Regions from separate parts of the Homo sapiens genome. Here region 2 is linked to region 1. The links are contacts of gene promoters, found by promoter capture Hi-C in blood cells and fetal thymus (Javierre and others, 2016). All regions are on one chromosome and are shown on one strand. The core of a region is centred on a gene start or on the middle of the fragment in contact, and the rest is flanking DNA. Distances in the headings are between cores, read along the strand shown.

Region 1 (3,310 bases), core at 37-2,536:
TTCATCATATTCATTCACTGCCTTTTTGATAGCTTCATCATCTCTATTGTGTCTTGCTTCCTGTACTTGTATGGTAAGTTTCCGGAGGACCTCAGTCAGCATCCCTGCTAGCCCATCAAGCTTAATGAAAGCCTCTTCAGGAGCTGTCTGGCAAGTGATCACAGCGTCCAAGAAGTCATAGAGATAGGGTGTGAGGAACTTATAAATCAAATGGGCATTTTCTGCCAGGACATCTGCTGCCAGGTCAAAATACTCATATTTACAGTAGAGCAGCAACAGGTTGCCAAAAGTCTCTGGAGGAAAGGGATTCTGTTGGAGCAAAAACTGTAGCTTTTCAAACCCTTCTGTAGGCCTGGCATCCATGTTCATTAGTGCCTGGTTGTGTAGGGTCACAGGGTCCAACTCTTCCTCTGCCCTGGGTGGCATGTCAGTGAGGGCTTCTTGAGCTGCCTCATAGTTTCTCAGTTGGTATTCTATAGCTGCCTTAAGGTTGAAGGCTTCCACCAGAGCAGTCTGATGGAGGACTAAGGTGTTGCCAACACTGCGAACATCAATGCCCTCAGTGGTCATGCCCACACCTAGCTCAGGGTGCTGGCGGATGCCACGCTCAATAATCTCAGCGATATGCTTCAGTGCTGAAGCATACTGTCGGCTGCTGTAATAGGCCAAAGCCAGGTTGTAGGAAAGGTCAGGCTGGTAGCCCGAGGCCTGCAGGGCGGCAAAAAACTTGGAGCATGCAGCTTCATACTGTCCCTCCTTGTAGAGCAAACAACCCAGGTTGATCTGGCCATCGGTCTCATTCTCGCCCCCACTTTCCTCTCCCCCTTCCCTACTCGGCAGCTGCTCTACCAGGCTCCTGGACCCTGGCAGATCGCCCTCGCTGTACTTGATAGCAGCTTGCAGGCGGAGGACCCGGCTGTGGTAGGCGGGGTTATCCAGGAGAAGGAAGGCGACCCGGGTGGCCTCCGCATAAAGGCAGGCCTTGTACAGGGCCTGGGCCTGGTACAGGCGGTACTGCTCCAGTTCCGGGTGCAGCTGGCCCAGCTGCTCATAGCACTCGGCCGCCAGCGCGAACTCCTGCAGGCGGTAGTAGCAGTAGCCTAGCAGCGACAGGCCGGCGCGGCTCCTAGGGCTCCGCTGCAGTTCTCCGCCCAGCAGCTGCACCGCCTCGGCGTAGCGTGCATTGCGGATGAGGCGGTACACGACCGCGGTGAACTCCCCGTCGGGGATCTGCGCGCCGCTCAGGCCAGCCATAACCACCACGGCTGTTATGGGTGCGGTTACTATGGCAACAGAGCAACCGGAAGCGGAAGACTGCCGGTTTCCTTGTCGCAAGAAATCTGTTAGGAACAAAAAGGGACCACTCTCGTCAGTCTCTCAATTTCAGCTTGATCTTCAAATACTCTGGACTGCGGAGTGGCGGCATTCAGGAGGGGAAAGACTACTCCGGGCCGTTCAGAGACTGAATCTACTCGTCCCGGCATGCACCGTTCCAGTGGTTCCGCGGCGCGGGTCGTAGCCGCGCTGCATGCTGGGAGACGTAGTCCCGGCTGTACCTACCGAACCGGCGGCCCGTGGGGGTGCAGGGTAACTCTCCTTCCCTGCCTCTTAAAGATGAGGGGCGCTCACTGTGTCTGTTATGGCACCGTGGTCTCTGGCGCGGCGGAGGAAGGTTTCCGGCCCCATGTTCCTGGCGATTTTGAGCCTGGTACACGGTGTGGTCGATAATAATGCTGGCTTTTGGTTTAGTTTCAGTAAAAGAACCGGGATGGCAAAAGGCGAGTTATCTCTTGGAATTACCCTGGAATTAGAGCACGTTCTTTTTTGCACTACCCCGAGGGCACAGTTTGTAAGAACGGAATAGAGCGGCGAGCAGGAATCCTTAATTTGGTGGTTTCCAGAGGTTAATGAGGAAAAAGGACTGTGAATCTTGATTGGTACTGGGAGAGTTTCGGTTTTAGGTCCAAGTATCTCCCGCTCTTTTTTCCCGTAACAACAAATATTACTGAGTATATATTGGCGTTTACCCTTGGCCATCCCCATTGCGCTGGAGTTCCAACTTTCACTACTAGGTAGAAACGTTGGAGAAATGCATGACTTCAGTTTTTTCCAAGAGGGGAAAATCCAAGACATTAAAATGTGCTCCTTTCCCTATGCATTTTTACTCTTCTCTCTTAACTACTAAATTAGTCAGCCAGTGATGTGTGGGTGTGTGAGAGACACACATGCTCAGTTTGTACTTTTCAGCCTTCTAGGGATTTTGGATATTGAACTGATAAATATGGATTTTCTTCTGTTAAAATAAGAAAAGATTGCCTACACTTTAATTTTTTTTCCAGATTCTTAGTTTGAAGATTTCTATGCAGGTTTGCTAGACTGTACAAGATATCATTCTGGGTTTTCTTTCATTCTTTGTTATATATTTGGAATAGATGCTGTAGATTCCATGTTATTATCCTGGGGCTATTTTTGTATAATTTTTTTTCAGTTTATTAGTGGCCATGATGGGGCTGTGAAAAACTAGGGGCTTAATTATTCCATAAAATTATATTTAATCACCAATTTAAAAAATACCCCTAGATAAACTGACCTGGAGACCATAGACTTTAAGGGAGAATAAATACAATTTTTCAATCAAGAATTAGGGACATAGACAAGATAGCAAAATATGAATTTGGCTTATCCCAGTGAGGTACTTGTAAATAGTGTAGTTTTCAAGGTAACAATAATAGTTGTAATTCATTAACATCTATCATATGGTGGCCTGGGACAGAGCATTGTCTTTTGTAGTCTTCCATGATGTCCATTGGCCTCACTACCACCCATGATAAACAGTCCAAGTCAGAGCATGTCTTTGCTATATAATTAAATACTTCAATGCAGGTACCTTACTGCCTCTTCAACAGTATTGCTGTTCATAAATCTTTTCTACATATAAATTTTGGAGCCAACACCAACCATATTGCATCACATTCTATTAGACCACCTATATATATTATTTCTAATCATAATAACCACCCTGTATTCTGCATATTACTGATGAAGAACATGTGAATCAGAAAGATTAGGCAACTTGCCTGAGATGACACAGCTAGATAAGAAGCAGCTGAATCATGAAATTCCAAAGCTAAGTTCAGTAGGTAATAGTCACTGATGAATTAACTCTATCTATCATGTATGGGCCCAGTTATAGGGGAATATTAGTGTCTTGCTTTTTTTATATTGTTATTTTCCTGTTAAAGCAACCAGCCACCTTGGGTTGGCCAGTGGAAATTTGAACTTCTTGGCCTAAGTCGTAACTGTGAGCAAG
Region 2 (3,471 bases), core at 218-2,717, 390 kb before region 1:
TTGTCAAAGGCTGCTCCTGAACTGGTTTTCCCACAGGATATCAGTGAATCATTACCCTTTAATCTCCAAATAAGATCCCAGAAATGAACAAGAGCAGAAAGTGATCTGGAATGCAAATCAATGTTTGTTTTGATGGCCTTTTGGTTTTCTAGTTGAAATCTCCCTTAGAAATTCTTTTATTATGGCACCTGGGTGACTTTGGTCTGGGAGAGAACATTCAGAAAGTGAAAATGAAGTTTGAGGAAGTCAAAAATGCTGCATAGCAAATGACGCAGAAGCTCAATGTGTCTGCATTGTAAAGAAAGGTCAGGTTTAATCCTTTGTTATCAGTCGTAATTTTGCTGGTCCCTTTCAGGAGACATCATGACAGGGAAACTACATTAACCACAATTTGGTATGCCCTAATCTTCATGCTAACTACAGTTTTCTTTTGTTACTTACTGGCCTTGACCTTTAGATGGACGGCATCAGGTGCTACTGAAACCAGCAGATCTCTCTCTAAAGCCTAGTGCAGGCCTGAGTCATATGCAGTTTAATTCATATTCCACTCAACATGCCCGTTTTATTTCCAGTGGAAATTGCTCATTTAATTGCACTGTACGTTTTATGGGGTATGCCCCAGGCTGCGTTCTTTATGCTAGGCATTTCAGTATTTATGGGCATAGCTATACCCAAAACTTCAAACATAAAAGTAAAACCAGCAAAATATGCTCTCCTCCAGTTCCATAAATGCTTTTCACCAGTTTCATTATTTTTTCCAATGAGATTAAATGGGTGTGTTAAACCTGTAACATAGACTATTACTTGGTGTTTCCAGAGCTTCTTTTGTCCTTCATATTCAAATCCAATACAGCCCCTTTTTCCTGCTTCTGAATGAGACTGCAAAGAGCAAGTATGGTCCTTCTGTGTATGGTCTAGCGCCCAGGAACAATAAAGACTTCCTCTGTTGGTAGCCTATAGAATTTTTATCTGTGAGAATAACCTGTAAAAGGTTTTGGTGTTTTTTGTTTTTTAATGAACTGTGCCTGCTTCTAAGTCACACCTACACCCACTAAAACACTGGATTAAAGATCGAATGTGGCCGGGCGCAGTGGCTCATGCCTGTAATCCCAGCACTTTGGGAGGCACAGGCGGGCGGATCACGAGGTCAGGAGATCGAGACCATCCTGGCTAACACAGTGAAACCCCGTCTCTACTAAAAATACAAAAAAATTAGCCCGGCGTGGTGGCGGGCGCCTGTAGTCCCAGCTACTCCGGAGGCTGAGGCAGGAGAACGGCGTGAACCCGGGAGGCGGAGCTTGCAGTGAGCCGAGATGGCGCCACTGCACTCCAGCCTGGGCCACAGAGCGAGACTCCGTCTCAAAAAAAAAAAAAAAAAAAAAAAAGATCGAATGTGTGTGTTGCAAAATAAATAAATATGTCAGCCTTGTACTGCAGATGGCTCCTGTGTTTTAGGGCAGGAGCAGACAGACATATGATTTTACCTGTAGCAGATCAGAAGGCATTCCCATACTACCCAAATGCAGAAAGGGCTCTACTATGTTTTACTAAACCTATGACTGTTTTTATCTGCTGTTATCCATCCCACTATATGAAATATACGAAAGCATGTTTCCAGGAAATTCCAGAGTTTTAGACAAACGCTTCTTGATAAAAGCCATTAATGGCTTTTTAGACAGTTTAAGTAGAATGGTACAAACAGAAGCCTCATCACAGGGGTTTCAGAAAAGGAAAACAAAAAGACAATAGGTATAGAACGACTCATTTGTCTATAGATTTGGAAAATGTCATAGGGTCGAGTGAAGATATTTGCCAAATTGAAGGAGGTAAGGACATATTTAGAGCCTCTGGGAAAGATGACAGATCTCAAGGACTAAGATTTGAATGCCGGAACAAAGCAGAATAGAAAAAGACTAGAGTTGTGTTTTCAAAAGAATAGGGAATATTTCGTAGACTTAGAAGGAGCTAGAGGTGGTAGCCTGAACTTTAGGAATAGGAATTCTTAGTGATTTGCCTGCAGTGTAGTAGATGTCAATGACTGAAGGATGACTGAGGATCTTAAGAAAGATGTGGCTTCTTCTTTCTCAGAAAAGCCACAGGGAGTGACCCCTGCAAATCCTTCCGAGTATAAGGTGTACACCCAGTGACAGCCTTCCTCACAGGACATAGTTATCACAGCATTGATGTGATCATTCCTCTCTTAATTAGGATTCAGTGCAGATGCAATTGGCTGAAAACCCAAAATAACAGTGGCTTAGGTAAGATAGAAATTATAGTCATTATTGGGATTATCCACACATTCTGGTTCTCCTGCTTTTAGGGCAAATAGACTACTTGCCTACCTTTTTGAAGTTAGATATGGTATGTGACTTGCATTAGTCAGCAAAATGGCATGTGTTATTTTCAGTTCCAAGCCTTATCAGTATACAATTCACTACATTCCTTTTGTCTTTGTCAGCAATGGTGGAAGCATTGGTTGACATGGACACTGTCAGCCTGGCTTTCTGAGTACCCACAATGAGCAGAGTCCCCCTGCTGACCAGCAATGGACATGTGGTGTGATCAAGAATAAACTTGCGCTGGGCATGGTGGCTCACGCCTGTAATCCCAGCACTTTGGGAGTCCAAGGCAGGCAGATCACAAGGTCAGGAGTTCGAGACCGGCCTAACCAACATGATGAAACCCCATCTCTACTAAATATACAAAAATTAGCCAGGTGTGGTGGCGCGTGCCTGTAATCCCAGCTACTCAGGAGGCTGAGGCAGGAGAATCACTTGGAGGAGGTTGCAGTGAGCTGAGATCACACTACTGCACTCCAGCCTGGGCAGCAGAGTGAGACTCCATCTCAAAAAAAAAAATAGAATAAACTTGTTGTTTTGAGTCACGGGTTAAATTTCTTTCTCACACAAAAGTCTGAGTGGTGGGGCTAGGACTGATACAGTGATTCATGGTTTGAGGGACCCAAGGTCCTCTGTCTTGCTGTTCAGCTGTGCTTGGCATGCTCATGCTTCATGGTTACAGCACTCAAGCTTTAAGCAGCAGGAAGCAGGAAGGCATGGAGAGGCAAAGGGTGTGCTGCACGTCAAGGAAGGCTCCCAGAAGCTCTCTTCCACTTGGAAACCTTTGGCCAGAACTTGGTCCCATGGCTGCACCTATAGTTGCAAGGGAAAGGGAATCAACGAAGACTGGGTGAGGCCAGCCAAAAATTGTGGGTTATTTGACCACATAAAGGGACCCGGAGGACTGCATTCTGCCTTAACTCTCAAGAACTCCTTGTATAAATGTGGAGATGATAGGATTGCACTGTCCCTCCCCATTTTTCATAAAAATAAAGAAGTAGTGAGAATATTGATCAATGTGGATGATGAGAGATTGAGGCCACCCTAACTAATTTAGTTGTTGGAAGGGGGATTTTTTTCTTCCCCAACACCTCCGTTGGTAAGAGATTATAAGACAACCATCTTCATTATG

What was found. Contacts are between HindIII fragments. The CHiCAGO score rates a contact against its expected background, and 5 or more counts as called.
Region 2: a fragment that was not itself captured here is called in contact with the fragment with the promoter of IFT70B in region 1 in 1 of 17 cell types (total B cells); the score reaches 5.3 in total B cells.

Annotation. Positions count from the first base shown.
Region 1 is chr2:177,551,510-177,554,819 of GRCh38, forward strand. IFT70B (intraflagellar transport 70B) reads right to left here and starts at 1,287. Exons shown (of 1, transcript NM_152517.3): 1 at 1-1,287. The coding sequence starts at 1,254. RefSeq lists enhancers at 287-1,091, 1,092-1,895, 1,264-1,553. The HindIII fragment of the contact is 6,507 bases long and covers 119-3,310 here.
Region 2 is chr2:177,166,035-177,169,505 of GRCh38, forward strand. No RefSeq gene overlaps it. Among named protein-coding and RNA genes, the nearest start is that of MIR4444-1, 45 kb to the right of the region's middle. RefSeq lists enhancers at 767-1,285, 2,287-2,581, 3,466-3,471. The HindIII fragment of the contact is 3,119 bases long and covers 1-3,027 here.